Linked DNA regions of Homo sapiens: all the other regions are linked to region 1. Evidence: promoter capture Hi-C in 16 types of primary human blood cells and fetal thymus (Javierre and others, 2016). All regions are on one chromosome and are shown on one strand. Each heading gives the region's core, a stretch centred on a gene start or on the middle of the fragment in contact. The rest is flanking DNA. Distances are from core to core; before and after follow the strand shown.

Evidence for each region. Contacts are between HindIII fragments. The CHiCAGO score rates a contact against its expected background, and 5 or more counts as called.
Region 2: a contact is called between a fragment that was not itself captured here and the fragment with the promoter of NXPH2 in region 1, in 1 of 17 cell types (non-activated CD4 T cells). The highest score is 5.5, in non-activated CD4 T cells.
Region 3: a fragment that was not itself captured here is called in contact with the fragment with the promoter of NXPH2 in region 1 in 2 of 17 cell types (M2 macrophages and M0 macrophages); the score reaches 7.7 in M2 macrophages.
Region 4: a contact is called between a fragment that was not itself captured here and the fragment with the promoter of NXPH2 in region 1, in 3 of 17 cell types (monocytes, M0 macrophages and M2 macrophages). The highest score is 6.4, in monocytes.
Region 5: a fragment that was not itself captured here is called in contact with the fragment with the promoter of NXPH2 in region 1 in 1 of 17 cell types (M1 macrophages); the score reaches 5.9 in M1 macrophages.
Region 6: a fragment that was not itself captured here is called in contact with the fragment with the promoter of NXPH2 in region 1 in 1 of 17 cell types (M0 macrophages); the score reaches 6.9 in M0 macrophages.

What each region holds. Positions count from the first base shown.
Region 1 is chr2:138,778,799-138,782,360 of GRCh38, reverse strand. NXPH2 (neurexophilin 2) reads left to right here and starts at 1,971. Exons shown (of 2, transcript NM_007226.3): 1 at 1,971-2,170. The coding sequence starts at 2,120. The HindIII fragment of the contact is 12,898 bases long and covers 1-3,562 here.
Region 2 is chr2:138,028,715-138,032,276 of GRCh38, reverse strand. The region is part of intron 2 of LOC107985948 (a long non-coding RNA gene); the gene reads left to right. Among named protein-coding and RNA genes, the nearest start is that of HNMT, 66 kb to the right of the region's middle. The HindIII fragment of the contact is 1,568 bases long and covers 834-2,401 here.
Region 3 is chr2:138,085,650-138,089,211 of GRCh38, reverse strand. No RefSeq gene overlaps it. Among named protein-coding and RNA genes, the nearest start is that of LINC01832, 14 kb to the left of the region's middle. The HindIII fragment of the contact is 676 bases long and covers 1,438-2,113 here.
Region 4 is chr2:138,105,459-138,109,020 of GRCh38, reverse strand. It overlaps LINC01832 (long intergenic non-protein coding RNA 1832), which reads right to left. Exons shown (of 3, transcript NR_135526.1): 3 at 3,116-3,544. Among named protein-coding and RNA genes, the nearest start is that of LINC01832, 5.4 kb to the right of the region's middle. The HindIII fragment of the contact is 639 bases long and covers 1,420-2,058 here.
Region 5 is chr2:138,123,623-138,127,184 of GRCh38, reverse strand. No RefSeq gene overlaps it. Among named protein-coding and RNA genes, the nearest start is that of LINC01832, 24 kb to the right of the region's middle. The HindIII fragment of the contact is 2,288 bases long and covers 396-2,683 here.
Region 6 is chr2:138,179,262-138,182,823 of GRCh38, reverse strand. No RefSeq gene overlaps it. Among named protein-coding and RNA genes, the nearest start is that of LINC01832, 79 kb to the right of the region's middle. The HindIII fragment of the contact is 4,520 bases long and covers 1-3,562 here.

The DNA of each region.
Region 1 (3,562 bases), core at 722-3,221:
GATCCTTCCAGTTTTTGAAATCCTCTTATTTGTGCTTTTGGGACAGAATAATTTACTAGAACTGGTAGAACAGGGCTCTAAGCCTTGGTAAAGAGGGAATTTTTGTAGGGATGAGGAGTGGAATGGGTGAGATATAGATTTGGATATGCAAATAGTGGTTTTGTTTTTGAGTCTGTTGCAAGGCAAAAGGAGAGTCTGAGATCAAGCAGAAATGGGATGCAGCTGGTGCATCCTTTACCATGGAACCCCCAGTCAGGCTTAGCAAGGGTTTAGGGAGGATGCATGCCCCTTGCTTGCCACTCTCCCCCCCTACAGGAAATGGAGTTGTACTGGAAAGATACCCTACCTGCAGGCTCAAGGACAACACACTCTCAAATTCACACTGGGATCCCAGAACACTCTGGAATAACCTCCCTCCCCATCTGCACAATCTTGGCACACTCAGTGAAAGGAATAGTAGGATTTTGCCCTAGTCAAAGCAATCCTCCTGCCTTTGAAACCTAGGACCAAGGCTGCTCTGCTTCAACCGCTAAGATTTAACAACCCTCCTTCATTTCTATTTTGGGGTGGGGGTGGTAAGCAGAGGAGAAGGAAACTTTTTTTTTTTTGTCCAAAAATTACAACTTAATCTGTGCTTTTTGTTGGGTTTATTTTTTAAAGCCTAGAAATCAATTGCAATTCTACTCCCTTGCTTCAACATGGTTTTCTTCTCTAAGAGCTTTGCGTTTCTAGATGTAAGAAGCATTCTCGCCTTGGGTATTCTGTCGGAGCAACTGCCTAAAGTCTCATCCTTGGAGAAGTGAATGTATCTCTCTGGACCTTAGGTTTCCCACCTGTTCAATAAAGGAGTGACGAATGACGCCCAAACTCTGATCTACCGTAAAAACAGTGCAGGTCTGTGAGCCCCATTGCCTTTGATTTTTCCACTCGAGTGTCCAGCACAAAGATAGTAAAAGGTTAAGGATCTCTCCAATGGCGAGTTGTTAACACGGAGGTCGAGGCTCACAGGCATCAGGTTTGCACCTTCGCCCGTCCGCAAAGATACCCCTCTCCAATATTTCTGAAGTCGGAGGCTGTGGTGGGGTATCCTGCCTTTATTCTGCTTCTCCAAAGCCCGGGCAGAAGGTCTGGGAGCAACTTTGTCTGTCTTCAGGACACCTAGCTGTCTATACCATCCCCAAACCGGAGTAAACCAGACATCACCTAGCTCCGTTTCTCACAGTTCTGCTCCTGGTCCCTCGAGGTCCCCATTACTCCCCAACCCCAGAAATCCTTCCAGCCGCACCAGGCGCACTTTGTACCCCTTACCCGCGGCTCTGCGAGCTTGGCGCTGCGGCAGAGTAGGGCACTCTCCCAGGGCGTCCTGGGCTCCAGCCTCACCTCCCCGCCCCAGCCTTTTCCGTTCGCAGCTCCCCACGCCCCGCCCCAGGACTCTGCAATCGCCTTCCCCTCCTAAACTCTCTGGGCGCTCTCCAGGCGGGCGCACTCTTTCTTGCAGCCACCCAGGGAGAACCTTTTCTTCCCCTCATCCCCAATCTCCCCAGCCAAAGCGAGAGCCAGTCAGTTGGCAGGGCGCTTGGCACAGTGGAGCCTCTCGGACCGGCCTTCTGCTGGGCGGGGGTGGGAGGAGGCACCCGGCCTCTCGGGGCTCTGGGGCACCGGCTGGCCAGGCGTGCTCAGCTCGGCCAGGCATCCGCCCGGCGGGATCGGATCTGGAGGGCAGCCTCGCACTGAACCCATCACCCAAGCGCCCGAGCCGCCGCCTCCCTCCCGCAGGCGCCCCACGCGCTCACCCCAAGCCCGGCCAAGCGGGAGAGTCCAAGGCGCGACTGAAGCCCCCCGCCGCGTGCCGGAGCTCGAGCTGCCCCGCAGGCTCTTTGCCGGCCCCCTCCGAGGAGGGGCGCGCGGGGGGCCGGGAGAGGCACCTCCGGTCCGCCCACCCTCCCCCTTCCCTGCCCGCCCACCCGGCCAGAGCTGCGCGGCACGGCGCAGCGCTCGGATTCCGGGAGGGAAGCGCCGCGCTGTGTCCCTGGCGTCCTCAGTCCTGCCCCGCGAAGTGGAGATGCGCGAGAGGCAGGCGAGGGCGCGCAGCTCGTGAAAAGCCGCGCCAGCCGGCACCATGCGCCTGCGGCCGCTGCCCCTCGTGGTGGTCCCTGGCTTGCTGCAGCTGGTGAGTGCCCGGCCCGCGCGCCGTCCCACACGCCGGGGACGCGTTTCGGCGGGAAAACCGCGCAGGCGGCTGACTTGGAGCCCAGCCTGGGCCTGCTTGGGAAGTGGGGTTGGGGGCGCGCGGAGGGCAAGGAGTTTTGGGTTGCCTTAGAGGTCGAAAGGGAAGAATTGAAGAACGGAATAGACGGGATCTACAGGCGACTCAGGGGCTTAGCACGGGTTGGGACTTGAGCGCTGGGGTAAAGTAGGCAGAAGGTGGCCGGGAAGTAGGTCCGGGAGAAGGAAGCGGTTTATTGATAAGCGGTCAAGGAGAGGAAGGAAAGTAAATTGATAGGATGAGAAGGGGCAGAAAGACCTTCCTCCTGTTCACAGTTTGAGAGGCTTGGTGGTGTTTATTTTTCACGTGGTGTTTTGCCCAGATGCACACAGACACTTCTCCCAAAGCACAGCATAGTGCATGCATCCTCGTTCTCAGAGCCAGGTAGTGGCGCCTTGCTGGGAGAAAACTTAGGCAAAATACGGATTTGGGGGACAGCTTGGATTTCTCTTCGTTTTCCGTCTGGCGCTAGGGACTGGGATGGGGCTTTCTGCCAGCTGGGGACACAAGATATAACTTTCATGCCCAGCTCCGCGCAGGAGCCCCCTCTCGGGCATCTCGAAGCTGTCTTTTCAGGGAGACCGCCCGCCTGGTCTGGGTGGCTCGGAGGCGCTGAGGAATAAGAAACGTATTAAAATGTGGTTTGGGGTTCGCGTTGTCACTCTCTTCTCTCTTCCCGCGAGGCGCCACGCTCTCCTCCTCCTGATATACGCCTATGTTCTATATGCATGGCTAATTATAGTTGAGGGAAAACCAAAGTAAGATCTTCAAGAAGAAACTTTTAAAGTAAAATTACAGAAGGGGAGTGCTTTGGCTGGGTCAGCATCTGTGATGGATTTCTTCTGGTCACTTAGCTCTTGCCTTGTTAGGGTGCTATTAAGAGGGCTTTCTCCTGATGCCATAGTTTCTTTGGTCCTCATACTTAAGACTTTGCCCAAGCACTTAGAAGATGACAGTCTCTTCTCTCTCGCTCGCTCTCTCTCTCGTTCTCTTTGTCTCTTTCTTTTCCTATTAGGGGGAAAATCAAGTAACTTTGAAAGTTTATGATATGTATGATATTGTTAAGGCAGAGGCACTTTGCAAGTTCTGAGGGTGGAAGGAACTCTAAAAGGTGGAGAGACCTCTGAGATGCCCGTGGTCCATGCTTGTTACGGTGGAGATTAGCTTCACCTGCACAGCGTTAACTCAGAAACTCTTCAATGGCATCAAGAAGAAAATGCAATGATATGCCCAAATATCCTTGAATGAGCCATCACATACTGGCTATCTACAATACTCCATGTTAAAATACATTTT
Region 2 (3,562 bases), core at 368-2,867, 750 kb after region 1:
CAGATATTAAAATTCCAATCCAGTGAAACATCCACACTTTTAATATCTTTGACTTATACTATTTAAAGCTTTTTATCTCCCCCAACTTGGATCTGCCTTGGGCTGGTAAAACGGCATTGAACAAGTAGGGCATGATCAACTTCTTTAGGATTCCCCTAAGCTTGTGTTCATCTCCTGGCTGCACCCAGCTGTCAATGCTGAGATTTAACTAAATAAAAAGTAGCTGTAAAATAATCTGTTATTAGGTGGGAGATGTAATAGGTATACCTGCTATTTTTGCAGGTAGATGACAATATATGAACAGTTCCATCCAGAAAGTCATGTGATTCTACTCAGTTTGCGATTCAGTTTGTGATTCTACTCAGATAATGAGTCAAGAGATAAAGGTTAATCAAAGAACTAATCAAAAGTAGTTCTTTCCCATCATTTAACTTTTTGTAAAAGAAGGTTTCATATTTACTTTTCTATTTGGGACCTACTGTAGGCAATTATAGCTTTCACAATATGATCCTTTAGAACTATGGTTAATAGCTTAATAGCCCTTTTGAGAATTTCTGGATTCTTGAAAATCGGAGCCCCACTAATGCGAAGGAAGTTTGCCAACAACTGTGAACACTGGAAGTGAGTGGGAAACTGAGTGTTGGTGCCCAAGTCCCAGACACAACCTCCCACTGAATGGGTCTGTTAGTGAGAGAGGGATGACCCTAGTGGGAACTGAAACAGCCTCAAAGCTGGAGGCCCTCCTCTCCCTCCCCTTCTGCACTATCCTAAGTTTCTGTCAGCACTCCACAACAAAACCTCACCACCTTACCCCAAGCTGTTAAGTGTAAGCTTGGTTGTACTTCATATCTTGAAGATTCTTATAGGCATCTTCAGATCTTCTGGGGTAATTAACTTCTGACTGCTAGAAATGACCAAAATCCCAACTTGTATGCCTGTTCATGGAGCTGTTTACCTTCAGATCTGTTTCTCAAATTTCCCCCTGCTCTGCTATGTATCACAAAGGGTGGGGAAGCAGTGGAGGGAGAAGGCTAGCTGACCCCTGCAGACTGTGTTTTCCAGGATCCTATGCCAAGAAAGGTACTAATGGAAGATTGGATGTGGGTGGGAAGGAGGGAGAAATTCCCTCTTCTGCATTTAGGGTGTGATTCCCAGGAGCCACTGTTTCTCCTCTGGGTCTCCAGAAAACCCTGTGATGAACTGCCCTGATTCCATTTTTCACCAGGTGACTGTCACCCCAGTGCTCCAGTAACAACACTCCCTTCTGGTCCCTTCAGACTTAGGGTAGGAGCTTCCTACCATCACTCATTTCTGGTTTGCCTCCCTCTGTACTGGATGCTTTCTCAGCATCCTCCCTGCATTCTATATAGCTGTGGAAACAATTCTCTGTGTTTGTTTTAACTCCTCAGAGTGGGTTCTGTACTTCTAGTGGGACCCTGGCTGATCGAGGCTGACTTTAGAAAAGGTGGGTGGGGTGGGGCAGGGCAGTGCAGAGATGAACAAAAACCTATGACTATGGTATACAGAAGAATGAGCATGCGGCTAAAAATGAACAGGTCATGAGAAATGATTCAGACTGAAAATAAGATGTTGTTATCTCCCAAAATGCTGCATTGCAGGAAGGAAGGGAATTATTCACCACCACCTTAATGCTAGCAAACCATCATACCCAAGGCCTTAACACATCAAAACCACAGGCTTTCTTTCATGCAAGAGTACATTACTGGGCTTCCCCTCTGAGAACTGCTTCACTCTCAGCAGGAAAGCAAAGGGGTCCTATCGCTCATGGAGTAGACAAGAAACCTTGTGATATTCAGGATGGGTGATGGGGATGCAAGCCTCAAAATGGTTACTTGAAAGAGGTATTCCTAACACATTCTATAACTATTAGTGAGTTCCTACCATGTGTTGTGTTGTTTTAGGTACTGGGGATAGAGCAGTAAGCAAATAAAAAAAATGTCCTGTCTTCAAAGAATGTATAATATTGCAGTGGAAGGATGGGAGAGACAAACAGACAATAAACAAAATAAATAAATAACATTTTTTTTAGTGGGGATATATGCAACAGAGAAAAATAATGCAGGGAAGTGGATAGTACGTGTTGAGAATAGGGGGTTGAAATTTTAAATACAAGGTCAGGGAAGGCCTCAGAGTGGCATTTAAGTAAAAATCCAATGGAGGTGAAGAAGAGAGTCATGGGTTTTCTGGGTAAAGGACATTCAGGAAAAGAGGTGGAAAAGATTTAGCATCATTTTGGGATAGGATGTGAGAAATAGAAAGGACTCCAGGAAGAATTCAAGGTTTCTGGCCAGAGTTTCTGGAAGAATGGCATTATTTGAAATGGGGCAAAGATGAGATAGAAGATATTTGCTTGGGGTTGGGGTCAGGAAGATCAGAAGCTTAATATTTAGACACATTAAACTTGGTAAGCCTATTAGACATTTAACAGGGGATGTGACATAGGTAGTTGCTTCTATGAATCTAGAATTCATAGACAGAGAGAGAGAGAGAGAGAGATTCTAGAGTTGTCAGCATATCAACAGTACTTAAGCAGTATGTAAAGCCCCAAGAGAATGAAAGTGAGCATAAACAGGAAAATAAAAATTCCAAAATGAAGTCCTTGGTACTCCACCATTAAGAGGTCAGGGAGATGAGGAAAAACTCAAAAAGAAGTTTAAAAAGTAGTGGCAAATGAGGTGTGAGGCAAAACATCAGGGGTGGGGGTGTCCTGAAAGTCAATTGAAGAATGTGTTTCAAGATAGAACATGTAAAATACTGCTAGTAGATGGAATAAGTTGAGCACCAAGGACTTACCACTGGATCTGAGGTCTGCCAAGAGCAGACTGATGGGGCTGCCAAGAGCAACATTAATGGAGTGGTGTGGAGAAAACATGGGGTGGAATCAAGGAAGAATTATGAAAGAAAATGAATCCCAGCAAATATAGAAAACACTTTCCAGGAAATTTTCTGTAAAGGGAAAGGCAGAAATAAATAGTGGCTCGAGAATGAAGTAGAGGTAAAAAGAAGGTAGAAGAATAAAAAGCAAGTTATTATGTTGGTGAAAAAGACTTAATAGAGAAGAGAAAATCATGGTTTGGGAAAAAGAGGGGATAATTGCTGCCGTGATGTCTTCAGACAGCACAGAGGAGTTGGGACTTGGTGCACAAGTAGAGACACTCACATCAGCTAGAAGCATGGACATTGCATCTATGGTACTGTTATAGGAGTTATTAAGAAGTTACTTTTGGCAGATAGAGAGGAAAAGGGTTCCTTGGGAAGTTTTTGTTTCTTTTAAAGCAGCTCCAGAAATGTTTGTTGTCTAGCAGGAAAGCCCCAGCTCTTAGATGGGCCATGCTGGCCATTAGAAACTGGGTCCACCCAAACATGGTGATTCCTGCATTCTTCTTGCCCTTGGCCCAACATGTGCCTGGCAACATGGCTGCCCCCATATATCCCCACGTGGGTAGAACATCATGGTGGCCTGCATTTACATATTAAAAAGCTAGAGTGGGAGGGCCAGATTTTTTTGCCGGCTACCATGCCTAGTCAAACCAATATCCTG
Region 3 (3,562 bases), core at 526-3,025, 690 kb after region 1:
CCTCTACTTGTTTATTGCCTCCTGCCTTCCCCAGAACAAAGCAAAACTAAACCAACACCACCAAACAAAAAAAATCTCTTCCCGCAGGATGGGCAGCAGGTGGAGATTCCATGCTCTTGCTAAAGGAACCATAAGGACAAGTGTTTATGAAAATGTGTCTGGCTAAAGAGTTACTTTCCGTAAAGGACGAGAGATTAAAAACAAATGACAGCAGGACGCAGAGCATGACTGTGTGTGCATATGTGTGTACTGTGTGCACCTTTGTGTGGGTGTACAGTATATACCCATGTTGTGTATATGGGTGGTGTGCTATAGAGTGTGTGTGTGTGCGCGCAGGTAGGTGGGTGAGTGTACAGTATATACCCATGTTGTGTGTATGTGTGGTGTGCTATAGAGTGTGTGTGTGTGTGTGTGCACAGGTGGGTGGGTGAGTGTACAGTATATGCCCATGTTGTGTGTATGTGTGGTGTGCTGTAGAGTGCGGGTGTGTGTGTGTGCGCACAGGTGGGTGGGTGAGTGTACAGTATATGCCCATGTTGTGTGTATGTGTGGTGTGCTGTAGAGTGCGGGTGTGTGTGTGTAAGGCACACATTTTTCTCCTTCCTCTGGCACCTGCTTGGGCATCCTCAGTTCTTGGCTTCTTCACAGCCAGGAGGTTTGGGGCACGGCCCCTGTTTCCTTTTCTGCTTCTCTGTGTACCTGGTGTCCCCTTGTGCTCTGCTGCCCACTGCAGGGACCCTTCCCCTCACTGCTGCCTGCTTTCCTTCCCAGCCAGAGGAAGGGGGCCATGTTCCTGGGGAAGGCGGGAAGGCCAGCAAGTGACTTTGATGGATCGCTTTGCACGGGAGACCCAGCTCTCCCAGATTAGAGAGGCTGCAGCTCGGCGCCGGTGCCTCCAACTGGGGGTTGTTCCGATGAGATAATTTTTCTCATTAACCTTGATAACTCTCTGCTGATATACGGATCTGTTTGCACTAACGCAGAACTTTTTTTTTTTTTTTTTTTTTAATATTTTTCGGTCTTCTACACCTTCCAGGCAGGAGAACTCGGAGCTTGGTGTCAGCCTCCAGGCTGTTGAGTAGCCTGGGTGCCAGCTTCTGGGTGCCCCGGCAGACCTGCAGGGTGGAGCTTAACAAGTCCCTGTGTTCAGTATCCTGGATTTTCTTGGCCATAAAGCTGTCAACAAATGTGGAATAGGTGTTGGAGTGAATGAGCAGTTTAGAGATTTAAGAAACCCATGAGGCAGAGGTGGGCTCATCTGCTCCCACTCCCCCTTCACTCCCTTTAGCCTGCAGCAAAACCCAGCTACTTGTTGTGGCTCCTTGCAATAGCTCTGATTTCAGACACCTTGGCTTCTGCCAGAACTGTCCCTGTGCTGCAAAGTGTAATGGCAATGTGCCAGAACCATTACTTGGGGCATGTCTTTTTCAGCAAGCTTTCTCTTCCCTAATTAAAGTGAATTTCTGTATTGTGTACATACTACCCTTACGGTATTTATTATAATAAATTGTGCCTATTGGTCAAGTCTTTTTCCCTGGCAGTCTGTGAGCATTTTGAGAATACAGTCTGTCATTTTCATTTTTGTTTCCTCAGCATTAATACACGGTCTGGCAACAGTGAGAATTTGGGGAATGTTTGTTGACTTTTGAAGAGAATTAAACAAGACACAAAATTAGGAAGTGCCTTGAATGCTTCATGGAGTTTAGTTTTATGGGGGAAGTTATTAGCATAGGTTGAATTGTATCCATCTGGGGCCTAATGTTGGGCCCTTACACATAGAGCATCCTAAGTATCTCCCCAGAGCCCCTCAGAGTGGACAGGGCAAGTCAATATATTGAGGATCCTGGTCAATTACAGTGAATAATTGCAAAAATGGGCCCCAAGAATTTAATAGACTAACAGATTAAACACCTTTATGAAAACCCACTGCAATACAATTATGTTGTCTATGAGGTAAATTTTAATTTTTTAAATAATTCACAATACACTACAGGCAGTGTGATCCAGTATGAGACACAAGAGAAATGATGGCCATCTTTCAATTTTGACAGTGTACTTCTGTGAGTTTATACAAAGTGATTTAAAAATTATGTCAAAGTTCTAAGTTTAAGCTTCTTCATGAATGTGATGCCTGCACAGTAGCTTTGCTTGACTTTTAGTCTCTGATTTGATCCTTCACTACACACGCATACAACAAACACCCTCTCTCCATTTTTTCCTTAGCCAGGCAGCCTTTGCTTATCAACTGACACTCCATTTTGGAAAGAGGTTATGTATTTGGGGGGAAGTAAAATTAACCTTATAATTCTTTAATGAGGCTGACAAAGACATTGTGTTGGGTCATAAAGGCAGGACAAGTAGAATGTAAAGAACTCTCCAGATGCTCTCCTCTCTGAAGAACACAGGGAGGTGTTTGCTGGCAGCTGCTGCAGTGTTGGAGCCAGTGTTGATGTTTGAAAAAAGGACTCAGACTGAAGGGAGAGGAATGATGTCATCTCTTGAAGCAGGGGCCAGTTCTTAAACTTAACACTCCTTAGAATAGACTGTGGAGATGGAGTGAATTCTAAGAATTTGTGCTTCTTACAAGTTTCTGGTTGTTGTTGATGTTGCTAGTCCATTGCTCTAAGGGAAACTGCATAAGAAAAGTGTGCCAGGTTACCCCAGAATTATTAGAGATAAGAGGAACCAGTGGGTGCTATTTGAATTATAGAGAATTTAAGATGCAAAGGATCTGATAAATCATTTGATCCACACCCTCATTTTATAAACAAAGAAATAACAGAGATCTAATGAGGGGTAGTAATATCATTTTAAAAATAAGTGAGTTGATGTTACAAATATTTGGTCACAAAGTCATCTAAAACCACCCGAGTGGTTGTTTCAGCTACTAAAGATACTAAAAAGATTATAGTGATATACAAAATAAAATTAAGAAGTGAACACTTTTCTTTATCTAAAGATTCTGGTTGCTAAATTCAATGTGAGGAGAACTATGTTCAAATTGTGCTTCATCTAAATGATTTCTTCCTACTATGTGCCAGGCACTGTACAAGGTCCTGGGGAAATAGCTTACAGTCCAGTGAAGGAGATTCACTTTTGACAGTATAGAGTTTGCCGAAGAGAAGTTTTCAGAAAAGCTCTGCCTGCAGGAACTTTTACGGAGTATCAGCCAAGTGACAGAAACTGAAATGGTTGCGAAGAAGTGGGCTTACCAGCAAATGTACCCAGTCCTTGGCAAATGTAGAGATATGTCTAAGGTCTAAGGTCAATAAAAATTATTATGCTTAAAATTGAGAAATGGGGTCTAATTAAACTAAAAAGCTTCTGCACGGCAAAAGAAACTATGATCAGAGTGAACAGACAGCCTACAAAATGGGAGAAAATTTTTGCAATCTATACATCTGACAAAGATCTAATATCCAGAGTCTACAAGGAACTTAAACAAATTTACAAGAAAAAAACACACTGCCCCATTAAAAAGTAGGCCAAAGACATGAACAGACACTCTCAGAGAAGACATTTATGTGGCCAATAAACATATGAAAAAAAGCTCAACATTACT
Region 4 (3,562 bases), core at 490-2,989, 670 kb after region 1:
TCTATTTATGTAGCAGGGAGAGCTAGTCACTGGAGATATTAGGCAAGTGTATTATGCAGGTATAAATGAAATAATCATTCTAACAAATGTAAGTTACAATTCTGACAAAGGCAATAAAAGAAAGGTATGTGGTTCATATGATAAGGGGAATCCAACCTCCTGATGGTGTTCTTTAACTGAGCTGTGGAGGATGGAAAGAATTTAACCAGGTAAGAGGATAGAGAAGAGAATTTTAGTAACTAGAAACAGCAAAAGTCAGGAGAGGGCATGACAGATAAAAAGCACCACCAGTAAGCCAGTGAGGGTGCAATAGAGAGAAGGACAAGGTGCTGGAAAATGAGGTTTGGGAGGCAGGTCAGACCTGGATCACACATCGCTACTTTGGTCATGGTGAGGACATTCTGCTTTAACGTAAAGCAATGAGATTTTGAGGGAGATGGGAGAGTGATGAAGGGAAGTGATGTGCATCTTGAGACCATCACTTTGATAGATATTTGACTGCATATCTTTTTATATTCCTTAACTTTATCCTTCATGTATCTCACTTTAAATTTTCTGTTTACTCTGATGGTTATTGTCTTTGGAAGCAGGCATATTTGGACATAAATTCGAGTTCTACCATTCACCAATTGTATACTTATTCTTCTCTGATTCTCCATTTTCTAAACTATACAATGGTGATGGTAATTCTTATCTCAAATTTTCTTAGGAATATATGCGATGGTATCTATGTAATTTCTGGCACACAATGTCAACAAATGCTAGTTTTTATTATTATCCCCTCTAATAATTTACTCCTCTTGTAATCACATTTTTCTGGATAGGATCCATTTTAGCTTTTTAAATTTTTTAATAAGAAGGTGGAATCATTGATCTACTATCCATAAAAGATGTTATTTCATTTATTTCCCATAGAGGGGATGGGAAATAAATGAAAGCCATTACCTTTGCTCCCCAGCACCTCTAAATGTAATGCCCATGCATTACATTACTTTGTCTAGCAATAGTTTACCTGAAGTAAGGAATTAATATCATTACCCTTTTAGAATTTTGCTATATTGAATAGTATAAAATGATTCCAGATTCCAAGAAAAGGGTAAGGCATGAGTTAATTTAGGTTGTATTGACACCACTATCAACCATTAACTGGAGGGCGTTTACCTTTCTCAACTGGATAGAGTAGCCCAGTATAAAGCCAGTGTAGCTGGTCTTACACTATTGAAAAATTGTTCACCCCACCTACTAAGCTGTTGAATGTGCAGTGAAGTTCAATAAGCAAGCTCCAGACACTATTTAAAATGAAAGTGGCCAGTTTTGAGTAAGACAATGAAAAAGTTAGGTGGAATTTTTCCAACGAAGGGTAAAATATCAAAATTAATTTTGGGGGAAAATTAAGATTCTCCTCACAGTCTCAAAGCTTTCTTCTCTAATCACACTTCAGACACTATCAGTGAACAGAGAATCTTTGTATTATTTCCAAGTTTCTCCCATTGTCAGTCACTGTGACAAAGTGCTGGCCAGTCTGACATAATGATGAATCACTCCAGACATTGAGTTTTCACATAGCTGTCGAGGGTTCTCGGTAGACTTTGTTGTCTGAAAATGCTACGGACCAATACTAGGTGCTCTGCTCATGAACAAAGCCAGGATTTGGCAAAATTAAACATATGTATTTTAGAAAAAAAAAGAGAGGTGTAATAAACATTTACTATTTCTGTTCCTACCATGTCTTCATGCTGCAATTGATTTAAATGCCTATTAAACAAATCCTCACTTCCCAAACCTCATCTCTATATTCTGCTGGAATGAGTTAGATTTCAGAGTACATTGAGAAGTTGAAATATCAAACAAACATTTTTATTTATTGTTTTCAGCTACAAAATAGCATGTGGGCTCTCCTTACCCTTTATCCTGGAAATTTTAACATACCACATAATTCTTTGCTAATAATATTTTTAACTGATTAGAACTTACAAATCGAATGCTGAATGATGGATTGATGCATAGCTCAATGTAAATGTACTTGTAATGTCTACCTTAGTTTCCTGTTAGAAAGCTTGTCAATACACCAGTGCCTCAAATCCATTTTCTCAGTAAAAATGTTGCAGTTTTCTGATTATTATTCACAAAGGCAGCTTCCTGAGTTATTTCTTCTCCTGCACAATATTCATGATAGCAATTTGATACCTTAGCAGTTTCAAGGTTATCAAGTGATGGAAAATCCTACTGCTTACTTCAAGGTGTAACATATACAACTGTGCTGTCATCCATTATAGCATTATAGCAGTATAATAGTTTTTCGTAATGCCTTTCATGAACTGCTGATTTAGAAGTGTAAGCCTAACTTCTGAAGGCACTTATCAGTCTCAGGCTAGGGGAGTATTGCTTCACTGGAAAACATCAGCAGGGACCCTTTGTGCTACTGGAAAAGAAAAAAAAGGAACTAACTTTCATTTCTCTCCTAGATAGTGTTAGAGCCTTGTCCTGTGAAGTCATTAAAGTGCATCTGCAAAAAGAAAGAAACAAACAAAAGCCATGGTTTAGCCTTTGAAGGGCTAGTGCTAATCAGCAATGAATCTTAGAAGGAACCATTTGATTTTGCAGATTGTGGAGGTTAAGTTAGAAAAAAGACATTACTGAGAGAAATGATGGAGGAGATTTTGCTAAAGTAACAACACAAAAAAGTCAAGCAAATTCATAATGATGCTGGGAGGTAAAACCCATCATTACTGAAAGCACCCTTTGCACATATTGTTCTATCCACGCATTGAATTTTGGTTTAGGGGTCTCTGGTTGAGCAGAGGGTTGCTTGAGTGAGTTTAGAAGGTGGCATCTGTTTAAGTAACAGATGTCTGTGTCACCAAGGTGCTGTGTTCTCACTTTTTATATAGGGGAAATTGCTGCTGAAAGAGTTTTATTGTTTTTATGCAAATGAAAATATCATATTCTTCTCCTTAAAGGGTTTCTCTTCCTGATGTGGATCCACAACAATCACAAAGGACCCCAGCCTCTTGGACTTTTTAAAAATATATTTTGGAATCTGATAAAGTTTCTTATGCACTGCCAACTATGCATGAAATGAGATCTGGAATTGTAGACATACTTGCTCTTTTTTAACAAGGCCCCACTGGGTTGAAGCAAATTGAGCAGGGTAAGAGTCAATGCTGACCCTTCTGTGGCACCAAGAAACTGGATCTGTAGAGGCATTCACACCCCTTGAGCTAGCTCTAAGCATGGAGGGGAAGGCTTGCCTTAGGGCATAATTTTGACTTCGTTCATTTGGTTCTTGGCTTCTAGAAATTTCTGATTCCTTTTATTTTCCAGAAGAGATGAGGGAGAGTGGAGTCATCCAAAAACACCCTTCAAGTAGACACATATAATTAACTATGACAAATATTCTGGGTGATAAGATGAGAAGGAAGCAGGAAGAGCTGTATTTCTGCTCTGTAACAAAGTATGATGATTATCTTGAAGAAAAATACTTGTGCAATTATTTGAGTTTCAGGCTGAACTACTCATTTCTTTTATGGAATGTCAGTTTTATCTGAAAGTACAAAAGAGA
Region 5 (3,562 bases), core at 290-2,789, 650 kb after region 1:
TGTTGCTGTAACAAGTTACCACAACCTTAGTGACAGAAACAACATAAATTTATTATCTTACAGTTCTTTAGGTCAGAAGTCTTACACAGGTCCCACTCGGTTAAAATCAAAGTGTAGGCAAGGCCACATTAATTTCGCAGTCTCTAGGAAAGAATATCTTCATTTTTTCTAGAGGCTGCCTGCATTCCTATGCTCATGTCCCTTCTGCCTTCAACACCAACTTCGGGTTGAATCCTTCTCATATTGCCATCTCTTTGGTTCTCTTCCATCATCATTATCACCTTTCTCTGAGTAACTAGAGGCAGGAAAGGGCCTTTGCTTTTAAGCACGCATGTGATTAGATTGGACCTACCTGGCTAACCCAGGACAATTTCCCATCTCAAAGTCCATAAGCTTCCTCACATCTGCCAAATCCCTTTTGCCACGTAAGGCAACATACTCATGGGTTCCAGGTGATTAGGGTATGGACATCTTTGGGCAATTATTCAGCGTACTACACCTCTCAAGACCTGTCTACAGGTTTCCAGGCTCCCAGCCTCTGGACTTCTAAAAGTCAAGTACGTATTCATGTGGATCTTATTCCTGTATGGATCCAGATGGTTTTAAGGTTGGGGGCGGGGATGCTTGTAGGTGTCCTGCCTCAATGCCTGTAAATGAATGCATTGAGTCAGGTGGGTGGGCTGACACAGAACAAGCATGGTGATTATAATGATCATTTGAAATGTTATTCCTTCCTCTTTTATCATTTTTAAAATGTAATATTTAGAAAAATCAGCTGCTACCTGTATATGAGGTGGCTTTTTATATCTAATTCTCAAAGCAACCTAGTAATTATGAAGATGAGAACTGCACAATGAAATTTAATTTCATGAGGATAATAACAAGGGGAAAAAATTCTTTTTTTTATTTTCAAGAAGGATTGGAAATTAGTCCTTCCCTTCCTCCTCTGCGGTTTCTAGGCTATGCTCTCTTAATGGATTTTTATCTGTTTTATAAGTAATTTCCTTAATATTTCAATGGTCACAGATAGTCGAGATCGTACGTCTTCTCAGCAAACATATATTTCATCAGCACTGTCACAGTCTAGAGTCCCAGAGCTTGTAGACTGATGTTTCTGGCCCTTCCTGCTATCAGACACATAGCACAGAAATAAATGTGTTTGTCTATTGGAGGCTTTAATGAAATTGAAAATGTAGCAACATTTTTCAATGTCAATAAGCTAATTTTCTTGTTTAGATGCTAATGTTGGTTTTTCCTGAGGATTCCATCCTCTAATTGTGAGTCATGACTTTTCTTCCCTTTGTCCAAATGCTATTTCTGAGAATGGCTTGAATTATGCAGGGTGGTTTCCGATTCCAGGTAGGACGAGATATTTTTGTTTGCCTAAACCTATGGCATGAGATGAGAGTCGAAGAGTAAGAGAAGCACTTGAGCTTTATTAAAAAGTGTTTACTAAGAATTTGAGGGTTTACACAATGCAGTAAGCACTGAGCTGAGAGCTGAGCAAATTCTGTCCCTGGTACTATACTTTTATTGGCTTGTACTGCAATTATTTCCATCTTACTAATGAAGAAATGAGCTCAAAGGAGCAATTAACTTGCGTAACTTTTTAGAGTTAGTATGTTGGGCGGAGTTAGGGTCATATCCACATCTGACTTCAAACCCCTGCCTGCTTCTCACATCACTCAGTCCTCAATACTCCTTCTCGTACCTACCCTCCTACTGGGGCTGAAGAAGCACAAGGGAAGGAATGTTGTCCTGCCTTTCATTTCTCTCCACCTCGGTTTCTATATCAAATCTGAATTTTACAGTTTGGTGATTCAATAACATTTTTACTAGGTAAAGACTAGTTTCTGTTCCCAATTCCAGAGTATTAAGATTAAAAAAAAATACCATAAAATCAGACCTGGATTAATTCATGCTCTTTTGTGCCCTTTTACTGCTCATTATTATTTTCTTCTTCCTCTCTCCCTCCCTTCTCCTTTCCTCCCCCCGTCCCCCCGACCACCACCCCTGTTATAAACAAACAACTGTTTTGTTAGTCGTTACCTAACATCTTTTGAATAGCTCTTCTATCTGGGAGACATTCTCAACATTATAAACCCGGCTGCCAGGGTGGGAAGTGAATTCATTCCCTCACTCTCCCTGGCTGTCTGGGTGCAGGAAGGGGATCTGGGCCACCCATCAGACACACCCATGAAAAGATTTTTTTGAGTTAGGAAAATAAGATAGAAGTTTACTTGCTCTTATAGAAGAGTAAAGATCTATCATCCTAGACTGATATCATGCTTTGGTCTCAGAAATCCATAGGGACAAGACTCCTTTCAAGTGATTAGTTCACAACCCCAGGGAGTGTGACTCATCTTCGCTATACTAAAAGCTAACATAAAATAACTTCTATTTTCCACTGGCCTAAACTGGCCACAATTTGATTAAGTGGGGGCTAGGAAATGTAGTTTTTACTCTGAGCGGCTGGCCATGTGACCAACATGACAGATGGAGAGAATATATTACAATGAGAGATGGAGGGAATATATGTTGGGGTACAAACAGCAGTCTTTCCTACAGAAGGGAGCAATATGATGTCATAGACACTCATTGAGTCTATCTTTCAGCAATTAGTGGTTCCAAGTGCTTCCAAGCATTTGGCTCCTCAGAGGCATTTAATGTCCGATCTTAAGCTTTGATATTTCAATGAACTGAGATATAGGTGACACACATTAACAGCAGTGGTATTTTCGTGGGTCATTTTCATGCATTGAGTATCGTCCCATGACTCTCTGTGGCTCTTTGGACCTCCTGATAATACTGTCAGCTACTCAGTATCCGTAATAAATTTTATTTACCTCTACCAAAATTAACTAGATACAGTCTATAGTTTGCAGCTAAGAAACATCTCCTTACCAGTTCCCTTAAAAAATGACTATAAATATTTCTGTGTTTTTCAAACTCAGATATCCAAACTCTGCTTCCTTTAAGAGTAAAAGTTAATGAACAACAACTCCTTAGTCTTCCTTTCCATCATTCAGAATTTCTTATCTAGTTATCACTAGCCTGCCCCTCTGTTCTCTGTCCCTGACAATGAAGTGTCTCTGCTCCTTATCTGAGATGAGTTTTCCAGCCTTAAGATTGAGCTCAAGCCTTCTGCTTTCTCTGGAATATTGCTCTAGAATTCCCACCCTCAACCCCCCACACACATGCACTTATATCTTAAATCTTTTTCTCTCCCTTGTCTCTCAGCACACAACCTGTCATGTCTTCTTCTCCTGATACTCCCTTCTCCCCACACAGCTACATTTTTAGGATGCCATTCCATTATTTTGTCTACTTTCTCTCCCAGTTCTTCACCACTCACTCATCCCTAAGGCTTTTATAATCTGGTCTCCACACCAGTTTGCTGAAGCTACTTTATCAAGTCATTCCCAAACTCCTAATATCCAAATTGGAATCGTTTTCTTATTGGTATCCTCAAATTTGCCACTTTGGCACTGATGAAAATCTCCTCTTTCTTAGTAGTAAGTCTTCTCCTGGATTAGTGACTTAGCATTACACCGATTCTCTT
Region 6 (3,562 bases), core at 491-2,990, 600 kb after region 1:
AATTACTGATGTCAGTTGTATTTCTCTTGGAGACGAGGGAAATAGGTTATTGGCACAATAAAACATCCAGACGCATTTAAAATGTCAGTCTAATCGCAAGAACCAGTAAGGCTTTTAATTACCTTCTGTGCAATTTTTTTTAATTGCTCCGATGGCTGTAGCGCTTGGTAAGTTCCTGACAGAGCAGCTGCAACAAACTTAATTTAAACATTTTTTTTTTCCTGGAGCTCTCTGAAAAAAGAAATCTGAGATGCAAGGTAAATGTTGGAAGTCTCTTTTGTTCCAGGATCTCTGTAGGAATTCTCATTGTTTGGTCACTAATAGAATCCCACCTTCATGTTAAACCAACCTGCAGGTTTTTTCTTTGCTGATGACATTCTTTGTAACAGGTGTGTGTTTGTCATCAGGCTGTCTCTTAGAATACTCTGAATCAGCCAGTCTCTGGCTGATATATACTGAGTATATGCTGATATATACTCTGGTGCTTGCTTAATTCTGAACTTGAAAATAGAAGGATGCACAGTTCCTTTCTTGAGATGTGTTGGACCTTGACATGAGGGGGACTATTTTCTACTTGTTAGCTCTTCTTTCCACTTTATACAGCTATGCTTTATTTATCTGCAAACTGTCTTTATTCTTTAGGGCCTTGATTCTCTCCTTTAAGAACTGTTCTCTTAGGAAGGGAACATGTAGTATGACCTGATTAAAATTACAAAGGCTTTACAATCTAAGATATCTGGGATTGAATTCCGGTTTGTTATATGCTACCTCTATTTAACCTCGGTTTACTTCTGTAAAGCAGAGATGATAATGTCTGCCCCACAAAATTGTTATGAGGGTTTAACAAAGTAATATGTCAAAAGTGACTGTCAAGAGTAGGTTTTTCCTTTGAGTTAGTATCTGGACAGTACCTGCCTCCACTTTTCCCTCTGCTACTTCCCTCATCTGGATGTGTGTAACCACATGTGCATTGCTAACTGTGTCTTGACACATGGCAGGTCATGCCTCAATTAGATATGAGTAGCAAAGGCTAGGCCTGAGGTTTATTTGCTACATTAAAGGTATCTAGTGAAGTGCCCTTAGCAATTAATTTTTTTCATTGATGTGCTAACAGATTGAAAATATTCAGGTACTTTAAGCCTGTTAGGAGATGGGCTGCAAGTTAGGGTCGGTTTGATGCTAGATATTTCTAAACGTTTTGTGCCCTATGAAGGGTAAGAACTAGTTAAACAGAGTTGTAGAATACTGAAGCTGGAAGGCTTTATTTCTAAACGTTTTGTGCCCTATGAAGGGTAAGAACTAGTTAAACAGAGTTGTAGAATACTGAAGCTGGAAGGCTTTATTTCTAAACGTTTTGTGCCCCATGAAGGGTAAGAACTAGTTAAACAGAGTTGTAGAATACTGAAGCTGGAAGGCTTTTCTGTTTTTATGTAATTATATATTTGTCAATTCCACAAAGTCAATTTTTTTGAGCAATAGAGCTATAGATTGCATTTGATACAGGAATGTGGGAAGTGTTTGAGTTCAGTTTCTCAGCAGAAATCATCTGAGCATCTCATTTCCTCTTCTGAGATTTAGCTCTGGGTTACAGGACTGCTCAATCTATTGACACTGTTAGCAGCAAGGTCTTTCCTTGCTTTTTCTGTGTGGCACTCAATAACAGGCCACAAAGGTTACACAGGATAAGGGGCATCACCATGAGCTGTTGAGTAATAGTGGGGACTGAAAAGAACTGTCTAAAGGGAATACTGATCTAAGGAAGGCAGAAAATGATAATGGATCAGAAGTCCCTCATAACAGATTTTCAAAGTCTGGAAGGATCACTTCTGTTGCTGCATGTCAGACCTTCTCCTTTGTGTTTTCATTTTCATACTCTCACTCCAAATTTCCCCATAGTCCAGGCTTCTTGGAATGGAATGAAAGGGAGCCCCCTACCCTCCACTTCTGCATATACACTGCTTCTACATCCTGGTAATGTTGATAGCTGCCTTCCAGTGATACAGCAAGCATTTAGGAAATGCCATTTTAAATGCATTATGTTAATACATATGTGTAAAATAAATAATGCCCATAAATCTCTTTATTCTTATAACAATGCTTCAATATTCTAACTTTACAGATGAAAAACACTCTGAACAGTGCTAAAAAGGGTGGCTAATTTAGGATTTATGTTCAGTTATGTAAGACCCCAAAGCCCTAAATATTTGTACTGTTATTCATTTTCTTTTATTCTGTTCCTGCAATAAGAGCCATGTGAGAATCTCCTGGAAAATTCTGAAAATCGCTCTTTAAGATCCATTAATTCTAAAACACTACTAATCCACTTTTGGAAATCATGGACATAGTGAAAGCCAGTTACTCATGGGAGACTCGACTATCTCTTAGCAGCAAAAAGTTGAGAGCTGCTGATCTTGACATCTTCTTATACAACACTTTTTCCATTCCCAGCATGATTCTGAGTGTGCATGTATGTGTGAGTGTGTGTGCATGTGCGTACCTGATGCATTACATGTGGTGTCTTGAAATACACTGGAATTAATGATAGCTGTCTTGGTCTACATTTTCTGTACATTTACATGTACAGAAGCATGCACTTCTGTCCCTTTCCCTGCTGGCAAACCTATTATCATACCTATGAGGCTGGTATGAGGAAATCTGCCCGTTTGTGAATATCTTAGTGAAGATCCTGGTGGGAAAAAGGTGACACATTCAAACTGGGAATAATTAGGGAGAGATTATTTACGAAGATGTGGTTAGGAAACCAAGAGAGTATAGTGGAGTTCCATAGGGCACAGAAACACTGGGAAGCCATTATCACACCCAGGTTTGAAAAACAATGGGACTGAGAAGTTATTGGAATCCAGATAGAGGCTATATGAAGAGAGTCACCTGTCAACAGCTTTGACCTTTAATGGAGGCACGCAGCCAACATATGATGACCCAAAAGGAAGGTTATGGGGTGAATAGATGTCTTGACCTCATTTCCTCCTGTTCTCTGATTTCTTCCCCTTGCATCCTGTTGGCCAGCCCAATAGGAAACTGGGGGGCTTGAGAACCCACAGAAGTAGGAGACACAGGTCAGCTTCCAGGAGTGCAGAGAAGGGGGAAGAAAGGCAAAGAGTGAATCTAGAGTGGCAAGCAGAAGACAGCTAGTTAGGCAAATAGATTGGCATATCTGTGAATTGTCAGCAGGGCCAATCAAAGTTATGGAAAGCAGTAAGGATTACACTAATGCAAATTCTAAATTACCTCTGAATCCCTTTGGATTGCTATTTAGTGAAGGCTTGCTGTTTCAAACTCTAAATATACCATGTCTTCATCACAATAATTGCTATGAGGAAGGTAGTATTATTCGTATTTTACAGGCAAAAACAAAACAAAACAAACAAACAAAAAACAAAACACAAAAACTGAGATGTCTAGCTCTCAAAACCTTGTCCAAGACCACAGGTAAGAGGCAGGAGAGCTTATATTCAAAGTTCAGCCTGAGTGACTCCAAACCTAGACTCTTTCTCATCATTACAATTTAGTACAGATTCAATGAAACAGCAATCTAAGAAAT